Regions from separate parts of the Homo sapiens genome. Here region 2 is linked to region 1. The links are contacts of gene promoters, found by promoter capture Hi-C in blood cells and fetal thymus (Javierre and others, 2016). All regions are on one chromosome and are shown on one strand. The core of a region is centred on a gene start or on the middle of the fragment in contact, and the rest is flanking DNA. Distances in the headings are between cores, read along the strand shown.

Region 1 (5,447 bases), core at 1,312-3,811:
AGCCTGGATGACAAAGCAAGACCTGTCTGAAAAAAAAAAAAAAAAAAAAAGGAGAAGAAAGAAAAAAAAATACAATGTAAATGTAGTTTTTCCATGCTTACCTTAAGAGTTATAATCAAAGCACTGAAGAGCCAAGGATTGATTTTTCTGAAATAAAACTTGCTAGCGAACTAACAAAAAAAGATCAGGTGTCTCTCCGGACCATCCCTAAGCAACAGGTGCCTTTTAATGTGGCTCTTCAGGAGATAATGGCATGTTGGCACCATTCCAAACTGGTAAAGAAGCTATTTTTACTTAGGCAAGACCCTGCAACTTGCTCAAATTATATTATGTTTCAGTAGTGCTGGTTAACATACAGCAGTCTCCATCTACTATACAATGTGACCAGCACAGCACATATTATTGACATTGTTATTAACATTGTTCCTATTTTCTATTTCCATAAATGATTCAAGGTGATTTTTATTTTCTTTTCGGAATTTTCCTATATTTTCCAGGTGTTCTACAATGAACCTGTGTTACTTTTACAATTGGAAAGAAACATATTCGTTAAACAGGTCATAGTTCTGCTCATTAAGGTAATATACATCTTTAAAATGTGAACTTATCTGCAGTCCAGAGAATGTGAAATATAAAGCAGATCTTTCCTATAGGTTTATGAATATCAGAAGATCTCAGAGTACTCACAATCAATTCATAAATATTCATTCTTTAAAGTATGAAAGATGATAAATATATTTAGAAGATTTCAGCACTTACTATAACTAGTGAAGGAAGAAATAAATGATTTCTTCCTTAAGAGGAACAACAACAGAAGGTATCCGATGGTCAAGAACATTATACCTGCCTCCATCATCTCAGAAAATAAAATTCCTGTCCAATGACAACCAGGAAGGCAGATGGGGGTGAGCTCGAGCTGTGTGAGGAGGCCGCTGATGACCTGGAGCTTAGGGGTGTGCTGACCCTCATCTCCCTGGGGATTCCCAGGAGACGCTGCCCTACCTGTAGCTGCAACTCATGGACCCTGTTACCCAGCCAAGTGCAATGGAGGGCTGGCGAGGGAAGAAAGATCAAAGGAAGAAAAGAAAGGTTCTTTTTTATTTCAAGTATGAGAAAAAGAGAGTTCTACTGTGAGAACATCAACTCTTCTGTAGCTATTGATGTAGCCAAACTCCTGGAATGTAACTATATCTAACAGTGTTTCTCTGAGAAACTTTTACAGGATTGGAATGTGTGTAGTATCTAGTTAACCTGCTATTTTATTGCAAGTGATTTTTTCAAGTTATTAATTGAAATAGGAGTCTACCGTAAGTTGCTCTTAACTTGGGGAACTACTTTGAATGGCATTAATCTGGACCATTAATAACAATGTATACTTGGGGATTGTGTGTGTGTGTGTGTATACATGTGTGTGCATATATGTGTGTACACACACGTGCACACACACGTGCGCGCACACGTGCACACACACACGTGCACACACACACGTGTACACACACACGTGTACACACACACGTGTGTTACTGTACGTGGAGACTGTACATCTTAGGTCACACACCACCCCTGAACCAATCCTACAAACACCATAGGTGATACACACTGTCAAAGACAAAGAGTAGATGTCCACAATAGCTGTTCTTTCTCGTTTATAACACTTCTTTTACCTAGTAATAATCAGCTACCATTTACTCGATACATACTGTGTGCTGCCTCTTCAACCTTTTGACCATTTAAACTACAGGAAACTAGGTTATCTTCAGGTTACCTTAGTTATGGGAGTGTATGGAAAACATTAATGGGAAGGTGAAAGCGCAGCAAACCACTTCAGCAGTTAACAGAAAGGCTCTCAGAGCACTGGACCGCCAATCAGGACACAGCAGCAGCTCTGGGATTCGACCACAGATTCTCTGGCGTGCCCTTCGGGAAAGGGTGGCCTCGGGCCCCCTACTCTACAGAGTCTCCTCCCACGGCTGCCCAGTTCCCTGGCCGACTATCTTGCCTCCACCACATCACCATCAGTACCGGGCGGCTGCAGGGCAGAGCTGTCCAGGGACCTCCTCACAGCCTCCAGAGTCAAGAAATGCCTCCTCAGGGAAGCCCTCTACCGCATCCCTGACCTGTGAGTCACGGAGCTCCCGGGCACCATGCTGGCCACAAATGCCTAAGGAGCCCCCCGGAACCAGCTGTGGGTCCCGCAGGCACTCGCAGGCTAGCGGACACCTTTGGAGGACTGAGAGACCTGTCCTGCAATCCAATGTTCCTCACTCTCACAAGATTTTACAGACGTGGAAACCGAGGCCCGAGGCCCCAAGGGGTAATCGGCCCGCCTTCCCATGCCAATAACCGGCAGTGGCGGGACCCACACCTACTCCGTGACCTGCAGGCCCAGGGGTCGAGCCCCAGGTAGAACGTCTAGACGGACTCCGCCCTTAGCGCCGTACGGGGAACCTTCTCCCGGACGCAGACACGGAAGCGGAAGTGCTGCCGAGCTGTAGCTATGGAGACGTGGGGGGCGGGCCGCCCGGAGAGCGCGACCTTTGACCTGCAGTAGAGCCTACGTCAGAGGCTGGCGCAAACAGAAGTGCAGCGGTGGCGGCGGCTGGTTGCGGGCCGGCGGCGGGCTGGCGGAGATGGAGGTAACTCAGGTCGGGCCCACTGCCTCCCATCAAGCCTTCCGCGCCGCGATTTGGGATGTGGGAGTGGGCCCGATGGGAGGGCGCGGTAGTCTCCCTCTTGGTGTCCCGAAGCCCGCGCTGCTGTCGCCTCCCCATCTTTCGTAAACTCTATCCCTGGGGGTTACCTGCCCCGTAGAGCCCGTTTGTGTACGAATTGCCACAGCGACCGCCTCCGTCCGCCCTCATTCTCTGTCTCACGAGGCTTTCCACCACTTGATTCCATAGAAGGTTTTTCCCTGTAAGGGTTCTACGCGTTCCGTGTGGAATTAGGAAAAGAGTTCTTCTGACACCTGGGTTTGATTTTGTTTTGCAGGATCTTGTTCAAGATGGGGTGGCTTCACCAGCTACCCCTGGGACCGGGAAATCTAAGGTGAAGAGAATACTTGAATAGCGGGCTTCCTGAAGAGTGGAAGGGTGATGAATTGGAAAACTTTGGCATGGGGAAGGGGGGGGCGCTGATTTTTTTTTTTTTAATAGCCTTGCTCCAAGGGATCTCAATTTTAGTGTGCGCAATCGCCCATTTCCTGTTTCTCCCCCGCCCACCCCGATATAGAAAGACTTTTTGTTTGCTTCCTGCTCCTGGTTAGCACTGCTGGGAGATCCTGCTATTTTTCGAACATAAAGCAGTCTAAGAAGGTTTATATAGTGGTGTAGTGGAAGGAGCAGTGACATAGGGTAGGAATCAAGGGATTCTGATCTGTGGGCTCCAGTTTCTACATTGCCAAAGAGTTTAATTAGTCCAGTTTTATGGCCCTGTACAATGTTTAACATTCAATCATTCTAAATGATAGTGGTTTATTGCTAAGGTTTATTGTGTGCATGCTAAATTTCTGGCGCTTGCCTAACCACTCAGTTCCTTCGTTTAAGCTTCATGATAACCATGAGATAGGTACTGTTGTTACCCTCCTTTTACAGATGAGAAACCTGAGACCACAGGCTTAAGCAATTTTCTCAAGTGGTAAAGCTCAATTTTTTAATTAAAGCCTGAATGTTACCCGGTTCATCTTGCTGCTGTAATTATGCGTAAATTTTCTTGTGACCAAAGACTTGCAGCCTTGAATAGAATGAAATAATTTTACAGCTCCAAGGAATTTTAAGTAGCATTAGCTCCAACCTACTGATTTTACAATTAAATCAAAAGCTAGCAATGTCAACCTGTAACATTAGCTATAAGAGGATATGGCCTGGTTTTTACGTTTCATAGTAGTTGCATAACTAATTTTTAGTAGTTGCATAGCAATTACAGAATTGACGTTGCATTTGCTGATTTTAAAAAATGTGGCCGGGCGCGGTGGGTCACGCCTGTAATCCCAACACTTTGGGAGGCCGAGGCGGGCAGATCACCTGCGGTCAGGAGTTTGAGACCAGCCTGGCCAACATGGTGAAACCCCGTCTCTACTAAAAATACAAAAATTAGCCGGACGTGGTAGCGGGCGCCTATGATCCCAGCTATTTGGGAGGCTGAGACAGGAGAATTGCTTGAACTTGGGAGGCAGAGGTTACAAGTGAGCCAAGATCGTGTCATGCACTCCGGCCTGGGCAATAGAGCGAGACTCTGTCTCAAAAAAAAAATGTGGAACAAAGTATGCGGTTGGCATAAAGATTTATTCTGTAGAATGTTTTTGTTTTCTAGCAGACATTGTTTCTTTTTTGTGGTATACTAGAAACATGAGTTATAACAAGTTGGTAACATGACCACATCTTTCAGCTGGAAACATTGCCCAAAGAAGACCTCATCAAGTTTGCCAAGAAACAGATGATGCTAATACAGAAAGCTAAATCAAGGTGTACAGGTATTGGGTTGAAAATACTCATCTTGATCACAGTCTCTTTAATCGTGGTTTAAAATGGTAGTTTTTAAAATAATGCATTGGCTTGTTTTTGTTTGTTTTCCAGTGATTCCAAGTACACCTTAGTGTAGTAGAATCTGTTATTTAACATTCTAAAAATTTACCTCTGATTTCTAAATTATTCCCACATCTCTAAACCACAGTGACTTTTGAGTTGTTAAAGTCAGGGAGGAGGATTTTTAAAGTTTGTGTAAGTTAAGTGTGTTTTTCCTTCATGTAGACTTTAGATTCTTCTGAGTTCTGAGTAAAGTGTTTTTTCAAGAGAAGTCAGTTGAAATGTTAGAGACAGAAGATAAGCCCAAAGAGATGGAAAGCTTCCTCAATTAAAATAATAAAAGACTTCCATTTACAGATATTGAAGTATGTTTACCTGCTGAAGTTGATTGATTCCCTATTCAGTTTTCTTTTTATTCCAGAAGGAAAAAGATCTTAGCACCTTTTTTTTTTAGTATATGTACATGAGCTCTTGAATTTCCAGTGACTTATAAATATTAACTGCTTAGCCTAAAAGCTAAGACTTATTTTCTATTAGAAAAGATAAAAGTATGTCTTGGGAGTTTGGATCACCTTGCAATGAAGAGAATAATTTATTTGGAAAGAAGTTCTAGGCCTGAGATCTAGGCATTTGCTAATTAAACACTTAGATTAACGTTTCTTTTCTCTCTCTCTCTCTTTTTTTTTTTTTTTTTTCAAGACGGAGTCTCGCTCTTCTTGGCCAGGCTGGAGTGCAGTGGCGCAATCTCGGCTTACTGCAACCTCCCCTTCCCGGGTTCAAGCGATTCTCCTGCCTCAGCCTCCCGAGTAACTGGGACTGCAGGCACCCACCACCATGCCTGGCTAATTTTTGTATTTTTAGTAGAGACGAGGTTTCACCATGTTGGCCAGGCTGTTCTCGATAACGTTTATTCTTAATATGTGATTG
Region 2 (5,484 bases), core at 1,935-4,434, 1.8 Mb after region 1:
TATTGTGGCACTATTCACAATAGCAAAGACTTGGAACCAACCCAAATGTCCAACAATGATAGACTGGATTAAGAAAATGTGGCACATATACACCATGGAATACTATGCAGCCATAAAAAATGATGAGTTCATGTCCTTTGAAGGGACATGGATGAAGCTGGAAACCATCATACTGAGCAAATTATCACAAGGACAGAAAACCAAACACTGCATGTTCTCATAGAATACTGTGCAGCCATAAAAAGGAACAAAATCATGTCCTTTGGAGGGACATGGTTACAGTTGGAAGTCATTATCCTCAGCAAACTAATGCAGGAACAGAAAACCAAACTCCGCATGTTCTCACTTATAAGTGGGAGCTGAATGATGAGAACACATGGACACAAGGAGGGTAACAACATACACTGGGGCCTGTAGGAAGGAGGTATTAGAGGAGGGAGAGCATCAGGAAGAATAATTAATGGATGCAGGGCTTAATACCTAGGTGATGGGATGATCTGTCCAGTAAACCAGTATGGCACACGTTTACCTATGTAACAAACCTGCACAATGCCATACATGTATCCCTGAACTTAAAGAAAAAAATAAAAAACAGTAATAAATAAAAAACGTTTTAAAGGGAACAAAAGTCCTTTGTCAAAAGGGTAGCAAAAGAGAAGGGGAAACATCAAACTGGGGCTGACCCTACTAGCAACCTCCCCAAAAGCCCCTTTCCCACCCTTCCTCTTTGCTGGCAGTCAGCTTCCCACTGGCACCTATGTTCTCAGCCTCCACTGCAGGCAGGGTGAGCAGGGGGCCCACGGCTGCCAGTGTAACATAAAACACGTATATTGGGATTGCCTCCCATTTTATCCTCCCTTACCAGGCATGAAAAGAATCTCTCCTACATCTGCTCTTAGATACTGAGGGTATGGACTTTGTAACCATGAGGAGAGACATCACCAACAAGCAAAGGATGGCAGAGTGGAATGACATCAAAGGCTGGTCTTTGAGGATATCACAAGCCATGAATCCACCCTGAGAGAACCTAGCTGCAGGCTTTTGTCAAATGAGACTGACAGTAAAGCCGCTTATTTTGGCAGGTGTCATGTTACTTGACCAAAAAAATCTCTACTGAAACTTAGACTCAGAAATTTCGCTTAAAGCCCAGAGTGGAAAACTATTTTAATATAATGTACCAAGAAAATAAATTACTTATTACAATTACCTCCTTTATAACTATGTAATTATTAAAATCCTCAAACAGTTGATATTTTAAGACTCCTGGTTCAGGATAAAAACTAAGCACACATTCATCTTCACTGGCTCCTGAAACCCCACAAAAAATGATTAAAACGTTTGAAAAGGTAACAAACTCTGAACACTGCAAAGAAGGAAAGAAGGACAACTAGCCAGCAAGAGATTTCAACAAATTTCTGCTCCATGGAAAAAGGCTGGAAGCATGTTCTCCTATAAAGGGTGGAAGACGCAACACAAGCATAAGAGGGAGATAATCTGCCAGGCCGAAAACTCTAGGACTTGAGTCAGCAGACATAAAGGACCAAAGGTTAACTAAACTAAATCATAGAGGGACACATTATGAAATTCTGCTGATGAAAAGACATGCACAGTGGCTGGGGTTTACTTTATAAATTATCTAATATTATTGTGTTATATTGTGTAAATTAAATCATATGCATACATCTAAGCTTTGAGGAGGGAAATCAATGTTAAAGCAATCTAAGGTCTTTATATTAGTCAAGGGAAGATTAATGATACTGATTACGTTTAGATTTAGTTGGGGTTCTTTCTTTTAAAAGTCTATTTACAGAAAACCTGAGCCAGTTAGCTCCCTTTTCCCCTCTCTGCTCTCCCTCCTTACCAGGGGATTCTTCCCTAAAAACAAAAAAACAAACAAAAACAATTAACAAACGACCTGAAGAGAATCATGACTGCTAAAGAAGTTTCCCATACACCAGGGTTAGAGCCGGCCCTATTCTGGCACTGGGGGATCCTCAGACTAAAAGCTACTTCCGAGCCTCTGATAAGCCCTATCAACATACAAAATTTCATTCTTATTCAGGGGATGGTACTAGCAGGAAGGACCCCTCTCTATCTAACAGTAGAAAAGCCCATGAGAGCTCTCTGGAATAATCAACCTAGTCCCTCATTGTTCAATAAAAATAGATAAGCCAGACCTAATAAAGAAAACCGGCAACGTGAAGATAAAATTTAAGAATAACCAAATATAAATTAATTAATTAACTAATTAAAAGGAATCTGAGCCCAGAGAAAGCAAAGACAATTCAGAGAACAGAAGAGAACTTAAGGAGAAAAAAAAAGCCTCCTAGTCATGGAAGTAGTAAGAAGGCAATCAATATGAAAACAGGAACATGATGCTATGAAAAAAGAACAATTCGAGAACAAGAGAAAACACTTGTAAATTAACAACATGACTGATGATGGCCAGGCACGGTGGCTCACGTAATCCCAGCACTTTGGGAGGCCATGATGGGTGGATCACCTGAAGTCGGGAGTTTGAGAGCAGCCTGGCCAACATGGTGAAACTCCGTCTCTACTAAAAATACAAAAAATTAGCCGAGTGTGATGGCGTGAGCCTGTAATCCCAGCTACTCAGAAGGCTAAGGCAGGAGAATCGCTTGAACCCAGGAGGCAGAGGTTGCAGTGAGCCAAGATCATGACAGAGTGAGACTCCATCTTAAAAAAAAAAAAACCAATATGACTGCTGAAATAAAACAATATGGCTGTTGAAATAGGTAATAAAGAAAAGTGTTAAAGTCAAGAGAATTGCTAGCATGGTAGCTCGTGGCGGGGGAGGGGGGCATCCCTTGAGCCTGGGAGGCAGAAGGTGCAGTGAGCCATGATTGTGCCACTTCATTACAGCCTGAACGACAGAGTGAGACCCCCCACATCCCCCCAAAAAAACATCTCCCATACAAACAAAGAAACAGAAACTATTAACAGGAAGTTATGGGATATAGAGGATCAGTCCAGGATATCCAATACCTGACTCAAAGGTGTTTCAGGAAGAAACAGACAAATGGAATTAACGAAATAATCTTTTTGTAAAATAAAATCTCCCAGAGCTCATGAGACATGAGTTTTCAAACTGAAAAGACTCAGAGCACTGAGCAGATAAAAATGATACCTAAATGACATTTTCAGATATGCAAATGTCAAAGTGAGTTTTTAAATGACAGTAACAATCTTCTTTTCATGCACAGAGAAGACTATGGTTACTTGGGCTTAAAAATAATTATTAGGGGCCGGGCGCGGTGGCTCACGCCTATAATCCCAGCACTTTGGGAGGCCAAAGCAGGGGGCATGAGGTCAGGAGATTGAGACCATCCTGGCTAGCACGGTGAAACCCCATCTCTACTAAAAATACAAAAAATTAGCCAGGCATGGTGGCGGGCACCTGTAATCCCAGCTACTCGGGAGGCTGAGGCAGGAGAATCGCTTGAACCTGGGAGGTGGAGCTTGCAGTGAGCCGAGATCATGCCACTGCACTCCAGCCTGGGCGACAGAGAGAGACTCTATCTCAAAAAAAATAAAACATAACAATTATTAGGCTGGGCACAGTGGCTCACACCTATAATCCCAGCACTTTGGGAGGCCAAGGCTGGGGGATCCCTTGAGGTCAGGAGTTCGAAACCAGCCTGGCCAACGTGATGAAACCCATCTCTACTCAAAATACAAAATCCAGCCAGGTGTGGTGGGGCACGACTGTAATCCCAACTACTCAAGAGCCTGAGGCAGAAGAATCGCTTGAACCTGGGAGGTGCAGGTTGCAATGAGCCGAGATTGCGCCACTGCACTCCAGCCTGGGTGACAGAGTGAGATTTAGTCTCAAAAAATAAAATAATAATAATTATGATTTTTAGTTTACTAACATAAAATTTAAAAACGTAGTTTTCCCTTGGCCTTCAAATTCAGTCTATAAATCTTACTCTGTTTTTAAATCTAGTAAAGCAAGAACAATAACCTTTGCTTTTCTTTCATTACTGTTAATTCAGCTTGAACTAAATCCCTTAATCAATCCTACTATTATAAATTAAATTCATTTGACATTTCAAAATTCATTTGTTTTGCCTTTAAGCACTCTGAATGCCTGACTTAAGTAAAACTTCTCCAAACAATTACAATTCACTTAAATTAATAGAATGAATCTCATGTTCTTTGGAATGTAATAAAATCCTTAAATATCTCAAAAACAAAGATTATCTTAATGATGTCCTAAACTTAATACAAATGTTATGAATTAATAGTCTAAATTTGATGTAGTTCATCACGTCTATTTAAACTCTCCCAAGGATTTTTTTTTAAGTAAAAACAAATACAAAACAAAAAACACCCACCTAGAAAACAGTGTTGTCTTCTCATGGGAGTTAAAGTTGACATCCCAATGAAGTACTAATTGCTTATAGACAGAGGTTTCTGACCAGGTCACAGGATCTGGGCTACATAGGCTAAGGATTTAGGGTAATCCTGCCCATGTCACCTATGTTTACATTAAGCAGTTTTTATAGTTGCTGTCACAACAGCAAGTCCGCAACCATCAGGTTTAGGTTGGTTTCTTCTACATTCAACTTACAACACTATGTGATTCTTCCATTTGATTCCAAAGGACCAATCTCTATGCCTTAAATACTATGCATTGAAATGTAAGTGCGGTTCCTGTAAAGCTTATATAATTTAGCATACTTTACCTTTGATAAATATGTTGTCTTTTATTGGGTTCTAGAGCTTCTTTCAGTTGGCTCTCAGAAAGCAAACTATCAACCTATGGAGACCATTTAAAATATCACATTATTAAATACCATATCGCCTTAGGAAAGAAAACTTCTTTTTTTATCCAATATTTTATAATGAACACTTTTAAACATACAACAAAGTTTTAAAAATTTTACAGTGAAAACCCATATACCCGCTACCTAGAAAAAACATTAACATTATACTATACTTATTTGATCTATCCGTCAACCCACCTTATGCCTTTCAAAGTAAGTTGCAGTTATCAATACATTTCTCCCTAAATAATGGACTATGGATGTCACTAACTAAAGTTCAATAGTTGATGTAAAATATGTATATAGTGAAATGCACAAATACGAGGCATACATTTGCTGAGTTTCGACAAATGCATACATCTGTGTAACCAAAATTCTTATCAAGATGTAGAAAACTACCATCACCCTAGTAAGTTCCCTCATGCCCTTGCCAGTAAATCCCCTCCTTATTCCTCCACAGACAAACCTGTTTTGATATTTTTCCAACATAAATTAGTTTTGCCTGTTCTTGAAATTTTATATAAATGGACTCATACAGTAAGCACTCTTGTGTAACCTTTCCACAAAGCATGTTTTTGAGATACTTCCATATTGTTGTGTGTACCATTAGTTCATTCCTTCTCATTACTGAGTGGTATCCATTGTATTGAATGTATCATGACTTTGTTTCTCTTGACTTAGTAGTTTGTTTACT

What was found. The method cuts DNA at HindIII sites, captures the fragments that hold promoters and counts their contacts. A CHiCAGO score of 5 or more calls a contact.
Region 2: a fragment that was not itself captured here is called in contact with the fragment with the promoter of GCC2 in region 1 in 1 of 17 cell types (naive CD8 T cells); the score reaches 6.2 in naive CD8 T cells.

Annotation. Positions count from the first base shown.
Region 1 is chr2:108,446,645-108,452,091 of GRCh38, forward strand. It overlaps GCC2 (GRIP and coiled-coil domain containing 2), which reads left to right and starts at 2,562. Exons shown (of 23, transcript NM_181453.4): 1 at 2,562-2,636; 2 at 2,989-3,045; 3 at 4,384-4,468. The coding sequence starts at 2,631. RefSeq lists enhancers at 1,502-2,484, 2,389-2,648, 2,485-3,466, 3,552-4,052, 4,053-4,553. The HindIII fragment of the contact is 5,578 bases long and covers 1-3,540 here.
Region 2 is chr2:110,196,712-110,202,195 of GRCh38, forward strand. NPHP1 (nephrocystin 1) reads right to left here. Exons shown (of 20, transcript NM_001128178.3): 2 at 4,710-4,783. Among named protein-coding and RNA genes, the nearest start is that of NPHP1, 5.6 kb to the right of the region's middle. The HindIII fragment of the contact is 2,997 bases long and covers 1,687-4,683 here.